4 separate regions of the Homo sapiens genome follow, and regions 1, 2 and 4 are each linked to region 3. The links are contacts of gene promoters, found by promoter capture Hi-C in blood cells and fetal thymus (Javierre and others, 2016). All regions are on one chromosome and are shown on one strand. Each heading gives the region's core, a stretch centred on a gene start or on the middle of the fragment in contact. The rest is flanking DNA. Distances are from core to core; before and after follow the strand shown.

Region 1 (3,127 bases), core at 38-2,537, 220 kb before region 3:
TCCCATTGGCTAAGAATAATAAAGCCTGTGCATGAATAAAACATGCCTGGAGTGATTACTCAAAGAGGGAAGCTTTTCGTTTTATTGTGTATCCTTCTGTGCTGTTTAAATTTTTACCTTGTGTATATATTATTTTTAATGTATGCATGTATTTAGTTTTAGAGATGAGGTCTTGCTGTGTCACCCAGGCTGGGGTGCAGTGGCACGATCATAGTTCACTGCAGCCTCGAAATCCTGGGTTCAAGCAATCCTCCTGCCTCAGCCTTCTGAGTAGCTGGGACTACAAGCATGTACCACTGCACCCAGCTTTATTTTTTATAACAGTGTGTAGCAGAAGATATTAGAGCTGACCAAATATCCATGCACTTCACATTTCCCAGCCTCCCCTGAAACTAACTTGTCTCTGTGTTGACTGGTTCTGGCTGGCAGACTGTGGGTGAAACTGAGGAACATCTGTCCAGTAGAGGCAGTGGAAAGTCTCTGTGTGGAACCCCTAGCACTCACTTTCAAGGCTCCAGATGGGGCAGCTGTTAGATGGAGGAGGGTGGCCCAATCTGATTGGACTTCAGGTGAGTGACAGATGAACCTCTGCTGTATTTAGCTACTTAGGGTTTGGGGCAAATGTGTTACTGCAGCAGGGCCCAGCCTAGACTGACTAACACAATGCACACAGACTTGATAGTGCCATTCCAGGATGCTGGCACTAAGGTCCCCACCACGATGGCACCAGCCTAGAGGGTCTGTGGAACCCACAGCTCCCAGCCTGGGCCCAGGTGAACTTTCTTTGTCCACTGAGGAGTTTACAAAGTGGTCCAGGAGAACAGAGGCGTCGGTCTCATGCACAGCAGGGAGCCAGGCACTGGCCGGCTCTGGGGATGGGACAAAGCCAGCCACAGTCGACCACAATGGGCCGTGTGATGGAGGAATGTCTTGCGGCCTTTCTGTAGCTCAGCGCTGCCACTGGCATTCCCCTTCCCAGGGGTGGGGACCGGCCGCATTAGAGGACCACGCCCTTCCGGAGGGAGGGAAGCCCCAGTCCACAGAAGGGCGAGCCGGTCACTGGGCCCAGATGCTCACTCACCACAAACTGACTGTTGACCTTCTCGAGGATCTGCTTCTCATTGAGGGCCATGGACTCCCCTTTCCTCTTTTTGATCCTCTTCTTCTCCAAGCGCTTGCAGGCATACATTTTACCCGTGGCCCGAACCTGGCAGGCACAGACCTGCAGTGCAAGAAAGAAACCAGGGTGGCAGGAGCACCGTGGAGGCCTGCCCCGAGCTCCTCCAGGGCGGGGACCACAGGCCTCCCAGGTAGAGAATGGATGGGGTCAGAGCCGGCCCTGCCTGGCTTCATGAGTGCTCCAGGCTCCCAGGACCCAGTGATGCCTGGCCTGGGGCCCACAGCTGTCCTGGGCCCTTGCCCTCCCTCCTCCTCTCCTTCAAGGATTCCCAGCCCTGGAAGGGGCAGAATGAGCCACTCACACCAAGGCTTAGATAACTGACTGGGGCCCCAAGTACCGTTCCATTCCCAGGGCAACAGGATTTTCTCCTACCGGCTGCCGGTAGAGAAGTTTGTTTTGGGAGGCAGTGATAGGAGATCCTCAAGAACACTGACTTCATAATCCAGATAAGCGGGAACCAAAGCATTTGGGCTTAAGTCTTAGCTCTGCCTCACATTGTCTGCGCGCCCTTGGCTGGGTCACCTAACCATTCTGGACCTCAGCTTTCCTCATCTCTAAAATGGGAATAACAAGGCTTGCCTCACATGCTGGGAAGATCGGGTAATGTACAACGAAATCTCGAATCTTGCATGACAGCGTCATCCAGGCACTGAGTGGCCAAGGTTGCCCAGCCTCCTCACGCCCTCACATCTCCTCCCCACACACGACCAGGGCTGCCCATTTGTCCTCTGCAGGCTGGATCCTGCCTGAGGCTGGCAGGAGAGCACGTCTGTCTCACCTGCCCAGCTCCACAACCTCTTTCCACCATAGACACACCTGATAGCCCCAAGGCCACTGACTCTCTCCCACCCTCACTGCCCCCGGGGCCCACATTGAGCCACTGGTGCCCCCGGGGGACCCGTGGGCCAACCCTTTAGGTTGATTTAGAAGGGACAGGAAAGGTGACTTGAATGTAAGAACTTTCAATTAAAAACGTGAATGTTCACTCACCTCCCCGAAGCCCCCTTTTCCTAGCACTCGATACTGCCTGAAAGTGTTTTTGGTCACCGGTTGCCTGGAAGAAAGAAGAATCCCACACTGGTCTCATGGTGCCAAGACTCAGAATCCACAGGAAACAGTGGCACATTGAGAGCAGCTGGGGTGGGGTATAATTCCAGGAGCCCCACAGCAGCCCCAGGGACCCCCCAGGAATCATCGCTGGAGACTGGACCTTCGAGGACTTAGTCTGAAGCTGAGTGTTCAAATCCCAAGCCCCCTGGCCCCCAGCCCCCAGCCCCCTGCAAGCTGGGGGATGCACAAGCCTCGCTTGCTCAGAAAGCTTGAAAAACCTGAGTGCAGAGGTGCTTGACCACACTCTCCATGTGGTTCTCCTCTCTCTGCAAATCATGCGGCGAAACTCAGAAGGAAGCTGTGCCTTCTGTGCAGGAAGGGGTGGGGGCCAGGAGCCACAGAGGACCAGCGTCCCACAAAGGACGCGAAGGAGGTCACAGCCCTCCCTACACCTGTGCATCTCAGTCTGCCCAGCAGGATGACAGTGCTTCCTGTCCTGGGCATGGCTTATTCCTTCCTGAGGGCACTCCTGCTGCTGGCCCAGAAGACCCGGCCTCAGGAGGGGGCAGAGGCTGCTGGTCTTCAAATCGTGTCCTGGGGATCTTTACCATTGGTTCCCAACCTTTCCACCACTGAGGACCCTTTATTGTATTTCCCACATAGATGAGGAACATGAGAAGATCCTGCCTGCCAAGATCGGATTGGAAGTAATGATCACCTCGCGTCTTCCAACTCCTCGTTTTAATGAGCCAAAGCCATTTATGACATTGAATCAGACAGAACTTCTGATCATGAGGCATGATGGCACTTTTTGGACTAAGCAAAGACATGGTCCTATCTAGTTGCCATAAAGGACATCACGGTGCAGAGGGCTTGTGGTTTGCATTGCTGGTCTGT
Region 2 (3,444 bases), core at 79-2,578, 200 kb before region 3:
ACTGCCACACACCCTCACGTCCGTCTGGAGTGGTTCCTTTCTCTGTCCATGGCCAGGCAGGAGACGTGATCCACAAGCCCCAGACAAGAACAGACCAAAGGAAAGAAGGCAGGGTTTGGTTTTCGGGGTCACTGGGGAGAAAAATAAATCAGTCCGGCCACACGCTCACGAGCTGTGCGGGCTCGTGGCCTGTCCCTCCCTCCACCCTGGGCCTGATGCCAACATCCAGCAGCCCTCGGCCCAAGCACGCCCAGCTCTTCACCGGGGTGTCCTCGTGGTCAGCCCAGGCGATGGACTGCACGGCCCGGGCACCGTGCCAGGCACAGCCCTGCCAGGCAGAGACACACCGGACCGGCAGCCTGTGGGTAGAGGTCCTTGTGATCGAGGCTGGAAGGCTCTCACTGTGCCTCTTTTGAGTTCAAAGGAAGGTGATGCTCACCGTTTCCCATGAAGGTGGGCACAGCCTCCAATCAGAAGCGGATCTGAGGCCGGGCGCAGTGGCTCACGCCTGGAATCCCAGCACTTTGGGAGGCCGAGGGAGGTGGATCACCTGAGGTCAGGAGTTCGAGACCAGCCTGGCCAACATGATGAAACCCCGTCTCTACTAAAAATACAAAAATTAGCCAGGCGTGGTGGTGTATGCCTATAGTCCCAGCTATGCAGGAGGCTGAGGCGAGAGGATTGCTTGACTCCAGGAGGTGGAGGTTGCTGTGAGCCGAGATCGCACCACTGGACCCCAGACTGGGCGACAGAGCAAGACTCTATCTCAAAAAAAAAAAAAAAAAAAAAAAAAAGAAGCAGATCTGCAATGAAGCTGAGGAGGCCGAAGCTTTAGGGTTTTGTTTGTTTGTTTGTTAATTGAGACGGAGTAGTCCTTTATTTGTAGTCCTGGGAGCTACAGAATGCTCTATCTTGGGAGACAGAGCATTTCTACAGAAGCACTTCCGGGAAATTGAGGTCACAGATGAAAAGGATATGAATCTCCAAGCCCTCAGTAATTTGTTGTGATTTCTTTTCTCCTTCTCAATATTCACTTTTGTACCTAACCTCCTATTCTTTTTCTTAAAAAGCATGCTCAGCAAGTTATTTAAGCTTCAGTCCCCCCTCAAAGAAACTCTGGATCTTCCCTTGTCTCCAACTCTCAAAGGGGCCTCTCCAGGGCCCTTCCAGAGGCCATGATGCCTTTAGGAAGATGGCATCCAGTCTGCCATTTTTATCTTTCCTTGGTGAACAGTCCAAAGACCTAGAGTCTAAGGGGTCTCTGGGCTCTCTGGAGTCTTGTGTGTCTGGCGGAGGAGAAAGTGGGAGTGACACCATGACACAGTGTTCAGAAGTAACCAGCATCCACGAAAGGCCTGTGACTCCATCATGGTGCAGACACACACCACCACTCTTGCAACCTCCTTAATTCTTTGGCTGAGGATCTCTTGTACCTCTTTGGTGGTGACCATGAGGGTAGCTGGGTTTTCCACCAGGCCAGGAAGAGACTTCAAGGCATGGGAGCTGTCTTTGTGAGCAGAGGTGGAGGTGGGGCCACTGCTCCAGTGACCAGTCGGAAAGCTTCTTCAGCTGGGGTCCATCAGCCATACGGGTTCCCTGAGTGCCCATTCTGTGCCCAGGCCATGAGGTCCACCCTAAGGACCCCAGAGACCAACTCTGTTGGCCAATGGCAGGAGTTCAAGGTCAGCAAGGACTGCAGGCTGTAGAGTGCAGGTCACAGCCCCTCAGCACCTAGGAGAGAGCGCTCACAGAGGTGGCCTCTTTAGACACAGGTGGCTCCACGGCTGTGGAGAGGTTTGATCATGGCCCAAAGGGTAAAGGGGGTTTAGCCAGGCAATAGGGAGGACCCTTCTATCCTCCAGCTCATGCCATTTGTGCGCTAGGAACTCTTCCAAGACTAGAGCTCTGGATGAATTCACTTTTCCTAATGGCAGAACTGACACTTTTCTAGACCCCTTTCAGATGGTAGGGTTGCACTGAGGATCACAGGCAGACAGCAGGCTCAGGGCTATGAGCAACCAAGTGAGGGCCGTGTGGCTGGGAAGTGCTGGGAGCAAGCCTTGCCTTGGGGCTGCAAAGCGTCGGGGGTGGTTCCAGCCCCTTCACAGTGCCCTGCTGACCTGGTCAGCCTGAGACCCAGCGTGTCATGTTCTCTGGGCCAACAAAGTAGAAAAACCCAGCCCTTCAGAAATAGCTGCAGCCCTTCAAGAAAAATAAAATGGACTGGGTTTGAAAGACCCTGACCCACATTTCCTTTGCTATTCCAGTGGCTTCACAGAAATAAGGAAGAAGTGCGCTTAGGGGTCGGGAAGCGAGGGAAGATATCTTTAAACGCTGGCAGAATTTAACTGGGGGCCCTGAGAGCTGGGCAACTTTAATGAGAAGGAAAGGAAAATACACAGTGACCCTGACCCAGACCCCGACCCTTTACGTCAAAAGCAAAAGACGATAATTAACAAAATGCAATGTGCCCGGACGTGGAGTGAGAGGCCAGCTGAGCTCTGTCAATTTGATAATCCCTGGTCGTGACCCGCAGGCCCAAAGTGTGCAACAGGAGATGACGCACTGTTTACACAGGCCGCGCACGCGGGGGCTCGCGGGACCCGGCGCAGCTGCAGGAGCAGCAGCAGGAGTGGGATTCTTCCTGGCCAGTGGTTTGCATGCAGCCAGCTCCGCTCAGGCCAATGCAACCACATGCAGGTCACTGACACATGGAGCCCAGGCCCTGAGGTGCTGGGGATGTTCACGGTGGGGAAACGGTGGGGAGTGTCCCTCATTCTTTGTGCGTGATAGGCGAGGGCAGGGCCCGCCAACTTTCCTTCTTCCAGAACACCCACCACCCTCCTCAATCCGAAATCATGTTGGATTTTTCTCCAGTGAAGACTTCATCCCTTCGGGCTGCAAAATAAAGGGGTTGGGGGGCAGGGGGCAGGAATCTCCTACGAGCCAGGAAATTCAAGAGAACCTGCCCCTCACCTCAGCCACGTGATGCCACTTCTCTGCCCAAGGTCCACGGATGGGGAGGGCCTGCCAAGCCACAGGGACCAGGATCACTGCCACCCAGGACAGAGTTGGGGGTGCCCTCAGGAAGCCTGTGGCTGAGTCTTCTGTCTGCCGCCACTCCAAAAGAGAGGCATTCTGGACAGGAAACACTATGCACACACATTAAGGACAGGGTCAGAGGCAGAGCCAGCTCTGCCAGCATCAAAGGAACCTCCAATTTTCTGACCTGGATGGTCATGAGAAAGGAAAAAGGACCTAGATGGGCCTGCCCTGGCCCACTGTGAGGAGCTCCAGCAAGGCACATCAGCCTCAAGGGCGTCAGGAGGCGCCAAGATGAAATCAGGCTGTGGGCAAAGACAATTTGTTTTCCAGGAAAGGTTGGTGAGGGGTGGGGTGTGTCTATTTGAAGGACAATTACACAGTCATGAAATATGCCGCGCA
Region 3 (3,494 bases), core at 947-3,446:
TACCATCAGACCCAGTGATTTCCCAAGAAATAATTTCAGAATGGAGCGAGAGTGAAAACTTTCCCAGCCCCCGAATCCTGAGATACACAACCGTGTCCCACCACTAGGTGGCCAGCTGCAAAGGCTGAAAGAGGGGCGGGGGAGGTGGAGGGCTGTTTTCTCTGCTTCCTCCCTTTCAGGACCATTCCCCAACCCAGAGGAGAGCCTACCAGCACCCACCTAGATCCTGTCCACTAAAAATGTCAGGTTAGGAAAAAAAAAAAAAAAAAAAAAAAAAAACCACACACACACACACAGCTCAGGCCTTAGAACCTGAAGTCACCAAGTAACAAGCCTCTCCTAAAAATTTATTCCCACCAAAGCTAAGCAATGGGAGGGAGACTAACCTGAATATTTTAAACTCTGCTGGGGTTTTCAAAGCACTGCCTCCCTTCGGGGCTTCTGAAATAAACCTTCTTGCCCACTGGCTGCTTTAGAGTGACAAGTGACGACGAAAGTAAGACACGAATGCCGGGTTGAGTTGCTGAAACGCTGCCCACGGAAGGCTATGCATCACCTACCCCCACAGTGTGTAGGGAGCCACAAGGTGATGGAACGGGCTGAATAAACACGAATCGTTTTATTGCTGGCCAGAAATTCTTCCCTTCATTCATCAAAGTAGGTGAATGAAAATATTAAGCAGGTAAGACATTTTCATGGGCTGCTCACCGAGTATCCTTCTAAACTCAAGCCCTTACTCAGTCTGCCTTCTACCTTGTATCAAATAAAGCGTTCTCCCGTGAAAGGGAAAAACCTCTTCCCCTTTTATGAAAAAGGTCGCACACTAGAGCTCAAATCTTGACCAGAAAAAAAAAAGGAAAATATGCGACATAAATTCCAGGTATTCCTAAATACATATGTTTACATGGACACAACACAATCATTTCAGGAAGCACCCAAGTTTCTGCCTCCCCCCCCTTTTTTCTGTTTTTCATCAAAAGGAAGAGTCAAAATATGCGTTCTTAGGGTTTGACTCAGGATCTTACACACTCCATTTAGACAATATTTCCTGCCAGCTAAATGCAGGAAATCTAATGATTTGCATAGAAAACGTATCTAAAGCACCAGCACACTTACCTTTCTTTTCTTAACTGAGCCAAAATCTAACAATTTCAGTTATCACACTCCCAGAAAAGAAAAACCTGAAATACTGAATTATTTTCTAGGTGGTCTGTACAGCCATCCTTTGATAATTCTATGAAAAGGCTAATTCCTCAACATCTGACTTTGCCTTTAAAAGGCTTCCTTCCACACGACGGGATTTCCCTAAGAAACATCCCAGCGGATGGTTTCCAGCAATAGTCTATATCAACTCAGCCTGCGCAGGCAAAGACTTGGCTTCTGCTCATTCCACCCCCGCCCCTCGAACACACACACCAGTTCACACAGAACCATCCCGGGCCGACTTGAAACGCTATTTTATGTGCATGTTTGCTCGTCGCTCCCCGAATGAATGCTTTTCCAACTGACCTTTCAACAGCTGCCGAGATGGCACGCTCTGCAGGGCGAGCGCTGGAAACTAGGAGATATGTTAGCATCCAAATCCCTGCAACCTTCTCAGCCCAAGTCCAGATTCTCTGAGCCCCAAGGCAGGAACCCTGAAGGGTCTGCAGAGCCGCTCTCCGAAGTGTCCTGCTCGCGACCCACTCGCCGGCAGCGGGCATCCTGCACGGGCGCAGCCCCAGCCCGCACGCCACCCGACACCCGCACCCTGGCCCGCGGCGGACGCGCCGGGCACGTACCGGCCCTGCCTCTTACCTTCCCTGGCTTTCAGCAAGACCGTGTTGGCCACGATGTTTTCCAGCTCCATTGACAGTCGGCGGTCAGCAACGGAGCCGGCCGGCGGGGCTGTCAGCGCCTGGGGTGCTGCCGCTGCTGCTGCCGCTGCTCGGGCTGCCGCCGCTGCTGCCGGAGCCGGGGGAGCCAGCAGCCCGCCTTGCCTACCGCATTATTCCTGCTCTCAGCCCAAGAGTTTCCCCCTCTGCAAAGAGGAGCCGCCGCCGCCGCCGCCGCCGCCGCCGCTTCTTCCTCCCTCTGTGTCCCCCCTCCCCCCTCCCTCAACACGCTCCCCCCCACCCCCCACCCTCCGCGTGTCTCTGTCACTCCATTCTCCTCCCCTCCGGCTCCCTCGGATGCTTTAATGCCTCGGATGCTTCTGCCTCCCCTCAGTCCCTCCCGGGGGTGTGGTACTAGCAGGCTCGGGCGGCCGCACTGCGCAAGCGCCGGCCCAGGCGCGCCTCCTGCCTCGGTGCTCGCGGCGCGGGGCCTGCTGGGAGCTGGAGTCCTCCCGGCCGCGCGGCGCCGGGGCTGAGCTGGGCTGGCGCGCGGCTGTCGGAGCGAGGACCCGCCCCGGGACGGCACCGAAAGCGAAGGCGGGCACCGCCCGGCCGACAGGCGACTCAAAGGCGGCCCAGCCAAGCCGAAGTCCCCAGCACCCCCCCGCAGGCTCCCGCTTGCCCCCTTCCCGCCCCGTCGCCAGCCCGGAAAGCGGAGTGCACGGGCCCCGGTGACGGCGCGTGAAGCGCCGCGGCCCGGCAGGAGCCAGTGCGGGTCCCGAGCCGTGCTCGGAGTGGGAGGGCTGCCAGCTCGGCCGCGCGCCACAGCCCGCTTCCTCCGGTCCGCGCCAGGCCCGCGAGGGTCTGAGTCCCGGGTCAGTGACGCGCGCCCAGGGTCCCCGCACGCGGCGGCGGCCGGCCCGGCCTGGCCCCTGCCCAGCGTCTCCCACGCGGCGCCTCGGGCCGCGGACAAAGATGCACTTTGTTTCCTCGGAGGGCGCGAAGGGCTCTGCGGGTCGGCTGCGACCCGGCGCTGGCTGCCCGCGCTGCTCTCGGTGCGACCCGAGCGCCCCCCGCCGGCCGCGGTGCGCGGCGCGGGGTCTACGCGGACGGCGCCTGGGGCTCAGGGTCCAGCGTGGGAAGCTGCTTATTCTGTGAATAAACTGCCTTCCAGCACACCCGGCCAGCAAATCCACGAGCCTCCCTGCAGCCAAACCCAGCCAGATTAAGTAATAAAAACGCAGACGGAGTCGCCGGAGTCTCCGCCGTGGGGAGCGTTAATGAGTAACAGCCAGGCCAGCGCCAAGCCGGCGTGGGATTAACGTTTTTAAATTCCGGTCTTATTTATTTTGGGGCTCTTAGCTCCTTCCAGTGTTATGCTCAGAACATCAGACTCCAGGTCTGTGCTCAGCCCCGTTTCCTTGCTCCCTCCGCTCCGAAGGCCCCACTCCTGGAAATGGGCTGTCTTCGGTCACCCGGGATCTGCCACGAGTGTCCTACAGCTGGGGGCGGGGCAGGCAGGCCCCAAAGAACAATGAGGCCTTTGCCTCCTCTGCATCCTGCGGGCCGGATATCCGTTCAGAAGCCGACTCTGGGCCTTCTCTGTCCAGAAGGAGGAAACCCTCTGTCCCCAGGGCTGCCAGGAAGTCGCAGGGAGGTGCCGAGAGAAACAGAGAACAG
Region 4 (3,339 bases), core at 840-3,339, 150 kb before region 3:
TACCTCCCTCAGCTTCCCTCCACCTCCTCAGCCTCCTCAGCCTCCCTCCGCCTCCTCAGCCTCCCCAGCCTCCTCAAGCCCCCTCAGCCTCCTCAATCTCCTCAACCTCCCTTCAGCCTGCTAGCCAGGTACCCACTACGACCTCACTCAGGACCTGAATTTGCCCCGGACTCTGCATGGGACTTGCTGCATGAACCCACACCTCCCCCCCGGGAACATCACTGTCACTCCAGAAACACAGGGATGGCAGAAACTTGAATGTTCTAAGTGTGGCAATGCACATTCCCCCGAACACCTGCATCCAGGGTGTGAACCAAAGAGGGGACAGATACCGGATGAGGAAGGCAAGCGAATTTATACAAAGGCCACTGTGTGAGATGCAGTCCCAACTTAGTTCATCTTAACAAAAATTACCCTCCCACAGCAGCCAGGGCCACAGCATCTGGGGCAGCTGCCACATGCAGTGGTCCCCTCTGCAGGTCTTTGCTCTGAGGAAGGCTTCGTGGGTGCTCAGCTCGATTTCTGGCCTTTGTTGCCTGGCCCTGCCCACCTGGGATCCCATTCCCTTCCACACGAATGACCTGGAAACACAACCTGCTTTGCTGCATCAACCCACAGCTGCCTTGCTGGGCCACGCAGGACCCGGAGGCTCCCCTCTTGCCATAACCATGGAGAGAAAGTGGCTCCTGGAAAACAGCTACAGCTCATCTGAGTTACTGGTGTGGATTACATGTGGGGTTCCCTGAAATAGGCCCCCGTAAGGGCATGTACTGCCCCCAAGCCCTCTCGTGTGTACACACATCTCCTCCAGGAAGCCTTCCTGGATTGCCCCAGCCCCACCCCTGGCCTCTGGCACAGTCTCTCCAAATGGCTCCTCTGATGCACAGCACCAGCAACCCCCCTGGTGTGACCTAGGGGACTCCAAACAGTGGAGGGGGCTCAGGGTGTGTTATGAACTGAACTGTGTTGTCCCCAAATTCATATGTTGAAGCCCTAACCCCCAATGTGACTATATTTGGGGGTGGGGCTTTGGGGAGGTAATTAAGGTTAAATGAATTCTTCAGGGTGGGGCCCTAACTGATAGGGCTGGTGTCCTTAGGAGGAGAGGAAGAGACACCAGAGAGCTCAGAGGAAAGGCCGGGCAAGGACATAACAGGAAGACAGTGGATCTACAAACCAGCAAGGGCAGAAGCCAGCCCTGAGGCACCTGGATCTTGAACTGTGGCCCCCAGAACTGTGAGGAAAGAAATACCTGTTGTCTAAGCCGCCCACTCTGTGGTATTTTGTCATAGCAGCCTGAGCAGACTAATACAAAGTGGATGATCCAAAGAGCAAGGCTTGAGGCTCAGTGCTGCCATTTACAAGCTTGGTGACCTCTGAGGAATCCCTGGGCCTTAGTTTCCTGGTCTCTAAAATGGGGCTGCTGACTCTGCCCTGCCTGCCTCCCTGAGAGGCCTGTGGAAGAGGAGCAGATGAGGGCACAGACAGGACCATGATTTGGGAGATGGAAATGCACCATGCACGCCTCAATTCCTGGGGGCAAGGGGACCAGGACCAGGAGAAGGCGGCCAGGCTGCCGGGTGGAGGGCCTGGGTGGAGGCATGAGATGGATACAGGTCCAATCCTGGCACCACCACTCAGCATCTGGGCAATGCCAGTCAAATCACATGGTCAGAGCAGCTACTATTTGCAGAGCATTTGCTACACCCCGGGCATAATCACTCTGTGCCCTTGGCTGAGTAATGGGAGGGACTCCTGTTCCTCATGGGTGACTGTCAGACAACATCCGAGCTAGGACCAGCCATGCATGCTGCGTGGACACCCCAAAACACTGCCACCCTTGCCCTCACCTACCTGTGGCTCAGGGACTCTCACTCGTGCTCCAGGAACTCAGGCAAGCTGGCCCCTTTCTCCCTCCCCACTGCACAATGGGGAAACCAGCCGGGGCCTTAGAAACAAGGGGCCAAGCCATTTCGGGCCATCCGTGATTCCATCCAAGGCTCACATACTTTCCATACTGAGGCCTCTCCCCTTTGGGTGTGATTGATGCAGCCACCCCGAGAGGACCAGGATCTGCTCAGCAGACGCTGCCCACCCCTGGCTTGGGAGGCTGCCGCTGCACCTTGTCCAAAACTCAGTCCCTGTGGGGTCAAGGCATCCGAGTCAGGAAGCGTGCCCCACCACCCACCCCCACCCTGCCAATGGCATGGCTAATGTTGGAGAAGACCAGAGACATAAAGGGGGCACAAAGGGAGGGAGACTTAACTACGTGGCCAAGAATGCAGGCAGCAGAACAAGAAGTGGGGAGTGAACCTGGGGACAGCCCTCTTGCATGGAAAGAAGCTCATGCAAAGCTGTCAATGGTGGGGCCAGCAGGCCTGAGTGTGAGCCGCTATTGCTATTGTTGAATGGACTTCAGTCAGAATTTCCCTGGCACCTGGATGCAGGCCTCTGGAAGGCAACCAAGCCAACAACAATCCAGACTAATGCTTCCCCCACTCCACTCCCCAGGAGCAGGCAGCAGGAGGCAACCAGGAAGGCACGCACCAGGATGGAACGATATCCACCAGGGTTACCCGCGTCTCATTATCAGCCACAGCCTTTCCAAACATCTCCCTGACCCCCGCTCCCATGAGGGGCTTTACCACAGGTGCCTCAGCTTCCACTTCCCTGGGAACAGAACTGCAGACACAACACAGGCCCTTTGGAAGGCACCTTCTCTAGTGCTGAGGGAATTTGCCTAGAGCAAGGGAAGGCCACAGCCCACCCTACCCCCCATTTGTGACTTTATCTTTGGAGCATAAACAAGCTTCATCTGCACTTACAGTTATTCCTTACCCAGCCCTGCTCTGTCATTAAAATGAGAAAAAACACCATTTCCAGATCACTTTCATTACTTTGATAGGGCAAGGCATCTGGCATCACTTCACTTCGCTTGGGCTCCAGGGTCCAGTTGGCCCCCAGCCACCTTCACACCTCACTTTGTTAAGAATTTTTTCTTCCCTAGCATGGGCCTCACACACATGCTGTTCTTTGGTGGGCAAAGACATTCCCTGCCTTCTTTGACAATGCCATAGAGGTAGCATGAGATAGCTCAGCACTGGTCAGTTGCTAAAGAGAGGGCTGGCACAGCAAATTTTAGTAAAGCAAAGCCTTTATCGTTTTATCAGTTTTGAGAAGGGTTCCTATATGAGAATACAAAGCCTCCTGTAGATTGCATTGAAAACTTGTGAGAAAAGGGATCGGTAGTGGCTTGGGCTGAGCCTGCTAGAGACTGAAGCATACAGAAGGGCTGCAGTTCTGTTTTGTTGTTGTTGTTGTTCATCTTCTCTATTCTTG

Evidence for each region. The method cuts DNA at HindIII sites, captures the fragments that hold promoters and counts their contacts. A CHiCAGO score of 5 or more calls a contact.
Region 1: a fragment that was not itself captured here is called in contact with the fragment with the promoter of GRK5 in region 3 in 2 of 17 cell types (M0 macrophages and M1 macrophages); the score reaches 7.2 in M0 macrophages.
Region 2: a fragment that was not itself captured here is called in contact with the fragment with the promoter of GRK5 in region 3 in 17 of 17 cell types (M0 macrophages, M1 macrophages, total B cells and 14 more); the score reaches 24.0 in M0 macrophages.
Region 4: a contact is called between a fragment that was not itself captured here and the fragment with the promoter of GRK5 in region 3, in 8 of 17 cell types (endothelial precursors, total B cells, M1 macrophages and 5 more). The highest score is 10.8, in endothelial precursors.

What each region holds. Positions count from the first base shown.
Region 1 is chr10:119,429,482-119,432,608 of GRCh38, reverse strand. GRK5 (G protein-coupled receptor kinase 5) reads right to left here. Exons shown (of 16, transcript NM_005308.3): 7 at 2,171-2,234; 8 at 1,082-1,222. Among named protein-coding and RNA genes, the nearest start is that of MIR4681, 53 kb to the right of the region's middle. RefSeq lists an enhancer at 3,077-3,127. The HindIII fragment of the contact is 2,426 bases long and covers 75-2,500 here.
Region 2 is chr10:119,409,193-119,412,636 of GRCh38, reverse strand. The region is part of intron 4 of GRK5 (G protein-coupled receptor kinase 5); the gene reads right to left. Among named protein-coding and RNA genes, the nearest start is that of MIR4681, 33 kb to the right of the region's middle. The HindIII fragment of the contact is 468 bases long and covers 1,095-1,562 here.
Region 3 is chr10:119,206,273-119,209,766 of GRCh38, reverse strand. It overlaps GRK5 (G protein-coupled receptor kinase 5), which reads right to left and starts at 2,196. Exons shown (of 16, transcript NM_005308.3): 1 at 1,798-2,196. The coding sequence starts at 1,849. It overlaps GRK5-IT1 (GRK5 intronic transcript 1), which reads right to left and starts at 1,346. Exons shown (of 2, transcript NR_186528.1): 1 at 1,117-1,346. RefSeq lists silencers at 1,770-1,819, 1,870-1,939, 2,150-2,979 and enhancers at 3,320-3,429, 3,450-3,494. The HindIII fragment of the contact is 5,116 bases long and covers 1-3,494 here.
Region 4 is chr10:119,356,698-119,360,036 of GRCh38, reverse strand. The region is part of intron 2 of GRK5 (G protein-coupled receptor kinase 5); the gene reads right to left. Among named protein-coding and RNA genes, the nearest start is that of GRK5-AS1, 19 kb to the right of the region's middle. The HindIII fragment of the contact is 1,444 bases long and covers 1,368-2,811 here.